Linked DNA regions of Homo sapiens: all the other regions are linked to region 1. The links are contacts of gene promoters, found by promoter capture Hi-C in human tissues and cell types (Jung and others, 2019). All regions are on one chromosome and are shown on one strand. Each heading gives the region's core, a stretch centred on a gene start or on the middle of the fragment in contact. The rest is flanking DNA. Distances are from core to core; before and after follow the strand shown. Region 1 holds the start of HS3ST5 (heparan sulfate-glucosamine 3-sulfotransferase 5). Region 2 overlaps HS3ST5 (heparan sulfate-glucosamine 3-sulfotransferase 5). Region 3 overlaps LNCPOIR (lncRNA periodontal mesenchymal stem cell osteogenesis related).

Region 1 (4,801 bases), core at 1,309-3,808:
TAATTAACCAAATGTTTTCATTGCTGTGTACTTTATTTGGCATAGATGACTAAGCTAAACCAATAAATCTGTGACTGTTTTCAAAACTGTATTTCAAATAGATTTTTTGGGTGTACCATTATGTCTAGTGTTTAGTTTTATTTGTTTAATTTACCACAATACCAAAATGTTTCTTAAAATGTTAGACCACACCCACCCACCTCCACACTTCACCTAGCAGAAAATCCAGGTCATCTGTAGAAGTTGAAAAGCAACACAAAAAAGCTCATGCACCTTCATCTAATCCTCCAACCCTGGGCAAGGTAAAAGCTCTTTCCAGAGCATTGCATCCCAGTTTTTGGAACCGTACCTGCTCCCAACCCCAGGTGTGACCCTGTAGCAGGTAGGCAAAATTACTGTGACAATCTCACAATCCATCAGCTACAGAGCAAAGGATCCTCTGAGGAGAAGTTAGGATTGCTGAGAAAGCACAGGCTGCTGAGCATTCCTCTCCTGCCAGACATAAACCTGATGCAAGACAGAATTATGAGAAACCAGATTCAGCTCACCCATCCTCCTTCTCAGTCATCTTCCAGGCACAAAAGAAAGACTGAATACCAATCAAAAGATAATATAAATAAACCTTTTAAATAAAGTTTACTAATTGAAAGGACTAATAGATGGAGTGATGCATTCTTCAAAATCTATTGTCATGCTTTTGTGGACTTTATTGCTTATCAGCATTTTTCCCCTCAAGAAAAAAAAACAGAACAGCAACATTTGTTCAGAAAAAAAACAAACCATGTTTCTTCCTTTCTTATTACTTTTATTGTTTGAGGTTTCTTTTAGACTATAATGTGGCATTGTGATTTTAAGATGGGAAAAAAAAATCTCTTGTCTTTCAAACATAGGAATGTGATTGTATGCTATTGTTGCCAACAATGAGCTAAAGAGGTTAATGGATCACATATCTGGCAAACAGCCATCTTTCCTCCTGCTCAATATATTACACAGTATACATTTTATTGTTGCTGCTGAGCATATGATTTTGTCTGAGTAGTTGGTAAATAAGTTTAGACTTAACTGGTCTCTTTCTAAAACTCAACAGCTTTGTCATTCAGGCTATATCCTGAGATTTAAAAAGTGCAGTTTCGGTTCTTAGCTCATGACCTTTTGAGGTGATGGTAAGAGTGGTGGGAGGAAGGAGGTGGGGCGGGCTGTTGAATGAGAATCTAGAAATATTGTGCCTTGTAAATTGCATCCGACCTTTCATTTTCAGATTGCCTAAATTAACAGAGTGAAATTACCATAATAAAAAGGAATGGGTACTGGAGAAAGTACAGCAATTCTTTCTAGTGTTGTTTCCCAGATTCCTTCCAAAATACCTCTAATTAAATGGACCAACTCTCTCCACTGACCTCAGGTTGACACAAATTTGCATTCTGCGACTGTCATTTGAAAACAGACAAGCCGTCATAAGCAATAATGCTGTGATTTCTTGCCTAAAGGACTTTTCTGTGTACTGCATTTGTACTATGAAATGTAAGCAAGAGACTTAATGCCTCTACAGATAAAAAGGGAGGAAAGATTTTCATTTTTAGGGAACCCCAGAGGGAAAAAGTTTATCAATGAGAAATACAATGTTCTGGATAATTTTGGTTGGGTAGGAATGTATGTTGAGGGAGGGGACTAGAGTTGGGAGAGAGGAAGCAACACATCAGTCTCCTTGGAGCAGTAGAGTCCTTTCAGTCCGGTAAAGAGCACAGTAAGTAGCAGGTAGAATCAGCTCCTGGCCTGTTGTTTTGCTGGGGGCAAAGGGTTGGAGGAACACAGACTAAATTGGGAAGGCTAGTGTGCCTCTCGGCTTTTGGACTTGGGACCTGAAAGAAGGCTGAGTCCTGAGCTCCGCTTCCCAGCTAGGCGGTGATCGCCCCCTGTGACTCCGGATGCACACAGCAGCCCCAAGCACGCCGCGGCCGCCGCCCGACCCTTCACCGCCTCCGGCTCTCCCGCCTGGCACTCTGGAGCCACACACACCAGCTTCCTGGACACCTGTGTGCCCCAAGCTCTGGGTCTAGGCATCCCCCTCACCCCAGAGAGACCGGTCTCAGCGCCTCAGCAATTGGGTCCCTCCGACCTCTGTGTCCCCGAGTTCTGCCACCCTGGTCACCTCCGCAGGTTCCCCAAGCTGCGACCTCAGTCCAACTGGGAGCCCTGCGCGCCCACCCGGCAGCCCCACTGCGCTGCTCGCCCGCGGTTCCAGCGCCTGGGTGGGACGCGCAGTGGCTCAGCTGCGGGACCTCCGCCTCCGGGTAAATCCTCCTCCTCCCCTTTCTCCGCCTAAGGCCCTGCCCTCCCCCTGCAGCAAGCCGCTCCGGTGCGTGCGCCCGTCTCTCCGCCGAAGACACCTGCGCTTCCTTCCCCACCCTCCTCCTCCTCCCTTTCGCTGCGGTTTCTCCGCTGCCTTTGGGAGCTCGGGAGCGGCAGCTGGAGGAGGAGCACGGGGAGGAGGGGAAGGCGAGGAGGAGTAGGGGCGGGGTGGGTGGGGAGAGAGCCGGGAGGGTGTGGACTGGCAGCCACTCTGCAGCTGGTCGCCAGGGACCCGGTCCCTCCTGCGCGCCCAAGTGATGGAGGGGAAGAGATTCGCTTAGACACACACACGCGCACACAGCTGGGCACGTCTCCGGGAGGCAGCTGCCGGCTCGGGCGCTCTGGGGGCCGGGCGGCGGCCGTGACAGCGCCAGCCGCGGGGAGCGGGGCGCCCGCACAGCTTGGCACCGGAGGCTCGAGGACGCAGGAAGGGAAGATCCCAGTCACACTGAGTGTTGCTCTTTTGGGCGGATTGGGAGGGAGCGGGCTGCCCGAGGAGCTGTCACCGAGGACGCCCGAAGTCTCGCCCTCTGCGCGCAGGGTCCGGGGCTGCGCCGGTGCCCTCGTGGGGCAAGGAGGATGCGCACCTCCCCCCGCAGAGCGGCTGCGGTCTCCGGCACTGCGCGGACTCCGGCTCCTGCGGCCGCCCGTGCCGTGCCCGCGCCACGGGAGCGCGCCCTGCCGCACCTGGTTCCAGCCTCTCGGGGAAGTGCAGGAAACGCGCCCTAAACTCCACTACTTCTCGCCCGCCTGCCCCCCCGCCCGGCTCCCCGCCTCAGACCTCGCCGCCGCCGCCGCCGCCGCCGCCGCCTGCGTGTGGGGCCCGCTCGCGTCTTACTCACACGCGCCACGCACAGCCCTGTTGGTTTGCTCTCATTCACGCCGACTCGCTCTCCGCCGAGCCTAGCCCGGGCATCCGAAACTACTGGACCAACTGCCGTCCGGACCGCAGCAGCGGCCGGGTGACCCCCACGCGACCCGCCGCCGACCCCCGCGCCCTGAGGCTCCCGCCCGCGCCGCCACCGCCGGGGACCACGGTGAGCAAGGCGCGCTGCCCGCCTCGCGCGGGGGAGGGGCTTTGAGACCTCTAGATTTGGGGGGAAATGAGAAGGGGCAAATCGCCAAAGGGAAGCATCCGGGTGATGCCAGCAAAAAAGCACTTTGTGGGGTTCGGTTCTCCTGGGCGCTGCCTGGGGAAGACTTTTGAGAGGTTTGCTTAGGACCAGAGGTTAAACTAGTGCGAGATGAGAAACGGCGGGGGCAATTCCTGGGGTAAAATTAGACAGAAGGTGTCAGTCAGCCTGCCTGTCTGTTTCTCTCTCAGTCTCTCCCAGAGCGCTGGGTAGCGCTCTCTTTGAGGGAGAAAGGGAACACGCGTTTACTGCGCTCGCCAGAGTTTAGGGGTTCGCGTTCGGTCACTTCTGGGGTGGCTGTGGAGCTGTTTGGAGCGCGAGGGCAGCTTTGGGACAGTGGGGGCCTGCGAGGCCCCAGCAGAGGACAGGCAGAGGGCAGGCAAAGAACAGGCAAAGGCTAAGTTAACATGTGGGTGGGGTTTTCTCTTCCCAGCTGGCCCCCCCCACACCCCTCACAGCCCCACTTTATGCATCTCTTCCCACCCAACACACACGCGCGCGCGCGCGCGGGATGGATGCAGTCGAAGGGTGGTCATACTGTTACTACAAACAAGTCTGAGAGGTCGCTGTCGCTACTCACTGGAGCGCTGAGACTCCTGCTCCTGTTACTTGGGCGACCACCTTGGTTTAGGGCAACCTGCAAGGAGCGTCCAGCTTAAGGTGGATGTCTTTACCTGGAGGTTCCAAGCGCCCAGCAAACAAACAACTCCGGAGTCACTTCACCTTGGTGGGTTTCCTCTACTCTTCCGCTTCCCTACTTCAGTGCTTCAGGGCACCCACCCAAGGGAGCTGATGCTCACATTCGTGGTCTACCCTGTCTTCACCCGGTGGGACTCACTCTCTCTCTCTCTCTCTCTCTCTCTCTCTCTCTCTCTCCCCCTCTCTCCCTATTCCCTCTCCCTCTCCCTCTCCCTCTCCCTCTCCCTCCCTCCCTCCCCTCTCTCCCCCTCTCCTCTCTGTCTCCGAATACGAATACCAGTTTCTTCTTAGAAAACACTGGGGAGAGATTTAATATTTGCAAAGTGCTTTATGTCATATTACTTCGTGGATACATTTAATAGCACTGTAACTCTTCTCTGATTTATGTAAACTTGGTCTGATAAATAGCATGCAGGGTCGGGTTGGGTGGGGGCGAAAGTGGGTGGGTGGGCCTTCTTTCTGTGCTAATGCTCCTTTCTAAACTGATTTGCTAGAAGTAATAAACAGCTGGTGCTTCTCAAAGGTTTTACTTAGTAGTTTCTACATATTTCAGAGCTTTAGACAAATTACACATTATAATTTATTTCAAATATATTAAGGTCTTTTCAAGAAAAAGTTGA
Region 2 (4,801 bases), core at 1,040-3,539, 190 kb after region 1:
TCAGAAAATAAGCATGCTTTCACTCACCTCGCCTTCCCACTGAGGCAGGCAGCAATAATTGATCACAGACTTCTCTAGTCACACTGCAAAAAGTCAGAGCTGGCCAAGAAATGAACCATTCCAGACATAACCTTGAATACTCAGACATCTCCTTTCCCTTCTTACCTCTCCTTCGTTAATAGACTGCAGTCCCAAGAGCCAAACCTTCAGCATCTGGATTTGCCTTTGCTTCTGCCCACTTGTCTGAGACCCAGGAACTAAAACTTCCTGTGATCCTCTCTGCTCCCCACGAAACCCTCTCCTGCTCCTGTGCACATTCAGTCCCCCTGAGCCCCCTTGATAACCCTTCCCTGCTCACCACTGTGCAGTTGAAGGGACGTGAACAGCGAAGAGCTAAAAGCAAAATAATCTTGACCTTTCTGCATCTTAGTTTCCTCATCTGCAAAATGGGCCTCACCATGCCCAGCCTGCAGGATTGTTGTGAGTACTAAGATAGTAGTTATTAATAAGGTGACTATAGCTGACACCACTGAGTCCTTGATCTCATCAGAGGAAAAGAGAGGAGAAAAGAGGGCCCCAGGAACTTGAAACAGAAAAAACCAAGGTGAAAATTACTTACGTTTTTTACTGGCCTCCTAGTTTCACCACACTGCCACTTCTATCATACCTCACTGAGCACAGAAGAGCAAATGAATGAGATAAGACAGAATATGATAATCCAGGACAGAAATTTCATCTCTCCACCAATATGGTGCAACGGGAGTCTGCCCCATTGAGAAAATGAATACGAAGATGAGCATGAAGCAAATATTGCCATGGAGAGAGGATATGATTTTTCAGCAGGTAGGTGGGAAAAAGGAGTGGATCAGTGCAAATATAGAAACAGGCCACTTATAAAATTAGGAAATATAACGAAATCCCAATAGAACATGTAAATATTTCCACCTATACCTATTGTTATTTAATGGGGATTACTGGACATTATTCAATTAGCTATCCTGGAGCAGGGCTGACCTGGGTTTAGGACCTGGCACTCCCGCACCAGCATGGAACATACAAAAGGAGATATCCCAGCTGTTGGTACTGTGAGGAAGTCTAAACCAGGAGACAGAGCCCAGGATCCAAACGGCAGCTCTGCCCCCATTAACAGTACCGTGGGCATCAGGCAGTAAAAGGGTGTTTCAGTGAACAAGTTAAATACTGCAACTGGGAATATTCAAGCTGATAGGTAAAGTCTCAACCATTGGGTGGGGATCAGTGGCAAGACTTCAACTCCTTGTAGAGTCAAGAGGGGTGTGAGGGCTGAGAGAAAGACTAGGACTAGCCCAAAGCAAAATAAAGAGCATGAAAATTATTAGGCAGATCCCCAGGCAGATTCAGTTAACAAAACTGGGAGCCAATCATTCAAGATAAGGAAGATTTGGAATCACAGCTCAAAGCACAGGCCAAAGCCTCTAGCAGCAAAGGCTTCATGGGTGCTGAACTTTTACATCCCTCGCAGTAGAGACAGGGCCTGACTGCTCAAGGGGCAGGCCACTTGGGATCGCACTTACACTGGGAGGTTGGACCACAGGAAGAGAAAATGTGTCCAGGCGGAGAACTGAGCCAGCGCTGGCCCCTCTAACTTGACAAACTCTCAGCAAAATCCACTTTAGCCTCGACTTTCCTGAGCTGTAAGATGAAATTCTGAGAAGAAAGATGAGAAAAGCAAATCTGTAGAGTTGCCGGGAGCTTTCACACTCCTCCTTCTTTATAAAAACCAGTTTCTGCTTAGCTCAGGTAGTAACAGAATTATTTCTAATTACCTAAAATTTCTCCTCTAACTGGATTTCAGCAGGAAATGATATCCTCAAAAGCTTAAATTTCTGGAGTGAAAAATGTAAAAAGTTAAGAAGGTAGGAGTGTTAACAGTTAATGGATTATCAGAGTGGTATGTGCAGCATAGATGTGTACACTGAAACAAAGAAGTGTGAATTTGCAAGGAATAATTCTTTTTCTTTAAAAATAGAAAATGCATGCTAATATTGAGAATAGAAACTGAAATTTATTTTGCATAAGAAACATAAATTTATGGCCTGGCACGGTGGCTCATGGCTTTAATCCCAGCACTTTGGGAGGCCGAAGTGCGTCGATCACGAGGTCAGGAGTTCGAGACCATCCTGGCTAACAAGATGAAACCCCGTCTCTACTAAAAAATTCGCCGGGCATGGTGGCACGCGCCTGTAGTCCCAGCTACCCAGGAGGCTGAGGCAAAAGAATCGCTTGAAGCCGGGAGGCAGAGTTTGCAGTGAACCGAGATCACGCCACCGTACTCCAGCCTAGGCGACAGACCCTCCGTCTCAAAAATTAAAAAAAATAAAATAAAATAAACATAATTTTGAAATTGTCACCATATAATTAACCTAGCCACAAAGAATAGGCAATAAGAGCATAGCTGAATGTATTGAATTGAAAAATAATGACCTTGAAAACACTGGCACAGGAATTTATATTTTTCTATTTTAATTTATAGCTTGTGAAGTGTTGATATAATTTTCTACATTTTACATAATTTGGGAGTGTCTTCTTTCAAAGGAGCTTTAAATATATTGGAATTTATTGGGCAACTGCTAACTCAGAAGCAAGTGGTTGTCCATCTATTGGCTTCCAGAGAGAGGTTGCACTGGTTCATTTAGGCAACTGGAATCCCATTTACCAGAAAGCTAATCAACAAGATGGCTAGTTACATTTATGAGTATTTCTTTTAGAGGCATTTAGTTTCAATCCCACAGATGGTAGCTGCAGACCATTAGTTTCTGAGCCAAGCTTTTCAGTGTCCTATTGTACTTAGCAAGATTGCTATGCAGCAACACAATTATTCCAAATTCAGCAAGAGTCAGCGGGCCTAAAACAAAGCTATGCCATAACAATTTAATCCCAGCTCACCTTCCCCTTTGCTGGATAAATAATCAAACACCTGCTGAATTCTGTTCCATATAATGAGAACATCTTAGCAACAAAGATCAAAGAACACTGACATTTGATCTCTAAGTAGAACCCCATTATAAAAAAGGATTTTTATTACGTGGTGTCGGATAGCTATTTTGTGGGTCAGATAATGCTGGGACAAATAAACAATACCAAAAAATCCTAACTCAACATGATTAATTTGTAAGGCATGGGTCATTCCTTTGCCTCAGCATCAACATTTTTGAGTGCTTCATTCTATCAGAGTCAGCCATCTTTTGAATGACTTGTAAAACAGTCATTTAAAATGTACAGGGGCAAGCGAATATGTGCTTTCTGGTTTTTTATTCATGCTTTAAAAAAAGCAGTAAAAATGCAAGGTGAAAGGATATTAAGGATGTTTATCTTTCTAGTTGCACTAGAATTCCCACTTTCAAGAACAAGCAAAATAGTTTGAGCTTTGAAAATGTCCAAAACACACGTTTTCCAATGTAATTCACATAAGACAATTTGACGATTCCTTCTGGGGTTTCTTTTCATGCTTGCAGTGAATAAATAAATATGAGTACAAATGATAAGGCTTTCTTTCAGGATTTTATTATAATTGCTGAATACATCTCCTACACTCAGGCATTAACTCCTTCTCTGAATCTTTTTTAAAAAATATTGCATGTATGCTATAGAATGCAAATCCTCCTTTCCTTCTCCCATCACACCCAGACAGCTTGTGAAACCCCATATTCTTCATAAAACCTCTCTTGAATGAAAATGACATAGGGCTTTCACCTCCAGTCCTTCATATAAAGGTCTAATTGAAGCAGCTTTCCCCAGATTCTCTTCTCTGTAAAGGGCACTTGTACTATTTCTCATATATGAAGTAAATACTTATTTTGATGTATTTAGTCAAAAGGGCAGCTGGGCCTCTATACGTTTGCTTATGAGATTGCCTGTCTTAGGAAACTTTAATAAGTCAAACATTGAACAACAATCCTTTGGCACTGTGTGCCACTGGAACTTAATAGAGCTCAATGGTGTTTTTTATATTAGCGGTTGTGTGAACGTAGGCTATGTGACATCTAGATCTGTGTGAATACCACAGTGTGCACAAATAACAGTACAGATTAAAAACAAACTTAACAGGACATCCAAAGCCATTAATTGTATTGAAAGTATTCTTAAATTAAAACCATTTATGTGACAATATTGAGCAGAAGACTAGTTTTCAGTAAGAATATTTAATGGTCATCAAGAAAAACATAGTCATTTCCTACTCCCTATAGAATACAAATTCTTGTATTTAAAATTAACACTAGCCAAAAGTACCAGAGCATCCTCCTAACATGAATAGCCTCACTTATCTTTTGGCTAAATGTTAATCTAACCAACAAAGGGAAACTCTTTTAAGCCTGTCTCTTCTTGATATGACAGGATGCAGAATTACCACAATTTTGGACAGTATTTTAAATCATTCAGGACTACTTTTGAATAGTTGATAAAAACTAAACTTTTGTATATGTGTATTACACTTTTTTCCATGTAATATCAAAGTGGTGATATACCTCAGATTTAAAATTTGTGCTGACCTAAGAAATTTTTTTTTAATTTTTAAAATTTTACTTGAAGTTCCAGGACACATGTGCAGAATGTGCAGGCTTGTTACATGTGCCATGGTGGTTTGCTGCACCTATCAACCCACCATCTAAGTTTTAAGCCCCACATGCATTAGGTATTTGTCCTAATGCTCTCCCTCCCCTGCCCCCCACCTGCCAACAGGCCCCAGTGTGTGATGTTCCCCTCCCTGTGTCTATGTGTTCTCATTGTTCAACTCCCACTTATGAGTGAGAACATGTGGTGT
Region 3 (4,801 bases), core at 1,275-3,774, 170 kb before region 1:
TATTCCTTTCATTCACAGTTTGTCAGAAGGTACCACTATCCACCCAATTTTTCAAGAACTGTACATGCTAGTTCTCATATCTGCTTCTTTTTCTCCCTTACCGTCATCTAGTTACAGATTCTATTTATGTTCAAATAGGCTTTTCTTCTTCCTCCTGACTGGCAGTTTCTAATGCGACGTCCTTTTTCTTGCTCATACTCTTGCAGTAGGCTTATTGGTCTCCTCATCTTTAATGTTACCCTCATGCTTCAATTTATTCTCAACAGTATTGTTTAGACTTATCTTTGTGAAAGTAAATATGGCTACACCAGTCCCTATTTTAAAAATGTAAATGACTCTCAACAATTTTATCACAAAGTCTCAAATTCCTAAGAAAGGTATACCATGTTCATGATTTGTTCAGCCTTGTTTCCCACCTCTTTCCAATTGCACTTCATGCTCTAATAACACTGACTCTCATGTAGATCCCAAATGGAAGTTACTTTCTGTCACCTCTATCCACAACTTTGTACAATATGTTGCCTCTGTCACAAATGTTCTATTTACACTTTTCCAGCTGTCAAACTGTATCCTTCAAGTGGCCTTTCTCCAATTCTCTTAAGACAAATTGTGCTCATATTCACACTTTATCTGATTTATGTCTTTATAACTAATAGTCTACCACAATGTCCAAGGTTCCATGAATATGTGTGGTGTTATTAGATAAATAAATGGATGGATGGATGGATGGAATGGATGGTCAGAAGGACAGATGAATGGACATTGGAGGGAGGATGATCAAAAAGACTTTCTGAGGAGACACGTTTTAGTCTCAATGTTAAATACTGGCTAAGCTTAGAAAGATTGTGGTGAAGAAAGAAATATTCTATCCATGTGGATAGAATAATGAAAGCAAGGGTGAGGAGGAAGGTGAGAGAAAGCTTTGTGGAAACAGTGAGTTCATCTGGGGTAAAATCTTTATATAGAAAATTAGTAAAAGCCAGAATATTAAGGTTGTCGGTAAAACAAAGAGGGAAAAGCAAGGACATCATATTTTAAAGGCATTCAAGCAAGGGTGATAGAAGTCACCGGACAACAAACAATTACATTTGCATGCAGAGAATGTTGCTAAGAGGCATGAAGTGGGTTTTATTTGCTGTTAAAATTCTGCAGATTGATTTATAGTTAACTATGTTGACAGCATGGAAAAGTACTCCTTTTATTTTTAAATACCTATGTAAAACCTTAGGTTAAAGATTAAATTTTCTTATAAAAAATCGTCAGATCTAAAATCATGTCTATGTCAAATTCTAATATGTATATACTTATATATTTAGACAGGATTGTGGATATGTTCTACAAAAATTCTTTTGGCAGAATATTATTTATAATTCATCAAACTAGCACATTATTTTGAAACATAATGTAAGAAAATAAAGTTTCCAATAAGAAAGGTCCAAGGAGTTACTTGCAAACATAACTAGAAGAGCAACCAAATAAATAGAATTATGAGAATCCTTCACTTTCACCTTTCACTCAGAGAATGAATCTATTAAATTATGAAGGCTGAATAGTTTTAATTTCCTTTGAACACTTTGGTATTTTTTTTAACTTAAGTGACAGGAAAGCTGTTAAAATGACAGGCACAAGAATGGCAAATTCTAAATCTTACAGAACCATAAAGAAAAAAATGAGAACAGAATTGTTTCTACATGTTCAAGGAGTAGAGAATAAGTATAAGTAGAAGAAAATAAATTTAATAAATTCAAGACATTCAGAGGCAAAGTACTTGTGGAAAGAACCTGAAAATTTTAAAAATATTTTAAAATTGTGGCAGATTATCATGTTTTAGTATAATAGCAGTAGCCTAATTTAGAGAAAGTCTGTAGAGAAGACAAAAGTCTTAGTGGAAAAAGTAAAAGCACTGAGATGAAAAAGATTTCTGAGCCTCAGTTTTCTCATATGTAAAATGGATATAATAAAATATAAGATGCAAAAACAATTGTGAGGACTAGAGATACATTATATAACGTATTTGGTGCAAGGTAAGCAGTTAATAAGTAATCATTATTGTTATTATTATCATAGAGTTTGACACACAAATTAGAGAAATTTAAAATTATAAAATAAAGAAAATGATAAAAATTATGAAGAGTTATAAAGAAAACATCAGCAGATCAATTTTTATGCTGGCAGACTAGGGAGGAAATAGTTTTAAAGAAATATTTCTCAAATGGCTGAGCATATATGTTTTCTCTGTCCCCTTGTCAGAGAGAAGTGAGTTAACAGCTAGTTAGCAACAGGTGGCATTATTGACCTCCTAAACATTGCAAAGTGCAGGAAGGTGACATTGAAAGTGGGATAGCCTCATTTGTTGACAAGGGTGTCTTTTCCCCACTTTATGTTTTTGTTTGCTTTGTCAAAGATCAGTTGGTGGTAAGTATTTGGGTTTACTTCTCGGTTCTCTATTCTGTTCCATTGGTCTATTACCTATTTTTATATCAGTACCATACTGTTTTGGTGACTGTGGCCTTTATAGTATAGTTTGAAATCTGGTAGTGTGATGCCTCTAGATTTGTTCTTTTTGCTCAGTCTTGCTTTAGCTAGGCAGGCTCTCTTTTGGTTCCGTATGAATTTTAGAATTGTTTTTTCTAATTCTGTGAAGAATGATGGTGGTATTTTGAAGGGGATTGCATTGAATTTGTAGATCACTTTTGGCAGTATGGTCATTTTTACAATATTGATTCTAACCATCCATGAGCATGGGATGTGTTTGCATTTGTTTGTGTCATCTGTGATTTCTTTCAGCAGTGTTTTGTAGTTTTCCTTGTAGAGGTCTTTCAACTCCTTTGTTAGGTATATTCCTAAGGTTTTTTTTTTTTTTTTTTGCAGCTATTGTAAAAGGGTTGCGTTCTTTATTTGATTCTCTGCTTGGTCGCTGTCGGTGTATAGAAGAGCTGCTGATTTGCGTACATTAATCTTGTATCCAGAAACCTTGCTGAATTCTTTTATCAGTTCTAGGAGCTTTCTGGAGGAGTCCTAAGGGTTTTCAAAGTAAACAGTCCTATCATCAGCAAACACTGACAGTTTGACTTCCTCTTTACCGATTTGGATGACCTTTATTTCTTTCTCTTGTCTGATTGCTCTGGCTAGGACTTCCAGTACTATGTTGAAGAGGAGTGGTGAGAGTGGACATCCTTGTTTTGTTCCAGTTCTCAGAGGGAATGCTTTCAACTTTTCCCCATTCAGGATTATGTTAGCTGTGGGTTTGTCATAGATGGCTTTTATTACATTAAGGTATGTCCCTTGTAGGCCAATTTTGCTTAGAGTTTTAATCATAAAGCGATACTGGATTTTGTCAAATGCTTTTTCTGAATCTATTGAGATGATCATGTGATTTTTGTTTTTAATTCTGTTTATGCAGTGTATCACATTTATTGACTTGCATATGTTAAACCATCCCTGCATCCCTGGTATGAAACACACTTGATCATGGCAGATTATCATTTTGATATGTTGTTGTATTCAGTTACCTAGTATCTTGTTACGGATTTTAGCATCTATGTTCATCAGGGATATGAGTCTGTAATTCTCTTTTTGGTTATGTCCTTTCCTAGTTTTGGTATTAGGGTGATGCTGGATTCAACGAATGAAGTAGGGAGGGGTCTTTCTTTCTCTATCTTGTGGAATAGTGTCAAAAGCATTGGTACCAATTCTTTGAATGTCTAGTAGAATTCTGTTATGAATCCATCTAGTCCTGGACTTTTTTTGTTGGTAATTTTTAAATTACCATTTCAATTTCGCTGCTTGTTATTGGTCTGTTCAGGGTATCTAATTCTTCGTGATGTAAGCTAGGAGGGTTGTATTTTTCCAGGAATTTATTCATTTCTTCTAGTTTATATGCATAAAGTTGTTCATAGTAGCTTTGAATGATCTTTTGTATTTCAGTAGTGTCAGTTGCAATATCTCCTGTTTTGTTTCTAAATTAGGTTTTCTCTCTTCTTTTCTTGGTTAATCTTGCTAATGGTGTATCAATTTCATTTATCTTTTCAAAGAATCAGCTTTTTGTTTCATTTACAAGTTACAGACTGGGATAACATATTTGTAATCCACATATCTAGCAAAGGACTAGTATATAGAATATAAGAAGAACTCTCAAAACTCACACAGTGAAAAACAAAAACAAAAAAATTAATCCAATCAGAAAATGGGCACAAGACATGAACAGATATTTTGCCAAAGAGGCTATACAGATGTCAAATAAGCACATGAAAAGATACTCAGCATTATTAGTTAATAGACAAACACAAATTAACGTCCCAATATAGTATCGCTTCACATGTATCAGAATGGCTAAAATAATAACAATACCAAATTCTGGTGAGAATGCTGACAAATTGAATCACTCCTATGTTGTATGTGGAAATGTAAAATAGTACAGCCATTCTGAAAAATAGTTTGGCAGTTCTTTATAAAACTGACATGCAATTTCTATACTATTCAGCAATTAATAATTGGGCATTTATCCCAGAGAAAAGTAAATTTATGTTAATGCAAAAAAACTGTACATGAATGTTCAAAGCAGCTTTATTCATAATAGCCAAAACCTGGAACCAACTCAGATGTCCTTCAATAAGTGATTGGCTAAACAAACTGTGGTACATGCATACCATGGAATATTACACAGCAATAAAAAGAAATGGGCTGTTGATACACACATCAACTTAGATGAAGCTCCAGGAAATTATATTGAGGGAGGAAAAAAAAGACAATTCCAAAAGATTGCATACCATATAATTTCATTTCTATAACATTCTTGAGA

What was found. Contacts are between HindIII fragments. The study calls those that stand out against the background at their distance.
Region 2: a fragment that was not itself captured here is called in contact with the fragment with the promoter of HS3ST5 in region 1 in 1 of the 25 tissues and cell types used here (hippocampus).
Region 3: a fragment that was not itself captured here is called in contact with the fragment with the promoter of HS3ST5 in region 1 in 1 of the 25 tissues and cell types used here (mesendoderm cells).

The regions. Positions count from the first base shown.
Region 1 is chr6:114,340,780-114,345,580 of GRCh38, reverse strand. HS3ST5 (heparan sulfate-glucosamine 3-sulfotransferase 5) reads left to right here and starts at 2,558. Exons shown (of 5, transcript NM_153612.4): 1 at 2,558-3,386. LOC107986638 (a long non-coding RNA gene) reads right to left here and starts at 3,256. Exons shown (of 8, transcript XR_002956366.2): 1 at 3,192-3,256. The HindIII fragment of the contact is 10,455 bases long and covers 1-4,801 here.
Region 2 is chr6:114,149,493-114,154,293 of GRCh38, reverse strand. The region is part of intron 3 of HS3ST5 (heparan sulfate-glucosamine 3-sulfotransferase 5); the gene reads left to right. The region is part of intron 6 of HDAC2-AS2 (HDAC2 and HS3ST5 antisense RNA 2); the gene reads right to left. Among named protein-coding and RNA genes, the nearest start is that of HDAC2, 180 kb to the right of the region's middle. The HindIII fragment of the contact is 4,615 bases long and covers 1-4,596 here.
Region 3 is chr6:114,509,382-114,514,182 of GRCh38, reverse strand. The region is part of intron 2 of LNCPOIR (lncRNA periodontal mesenchymal stem cell osteogenesis related); the gene reads left to right. Among named protein-coding and RNA genes, the nearest start is that of LNCPOIR, 34 kb to the left of the region's middle. The HindIII fragment of the contact is 3,293 bases long and covers 878-4,170 here.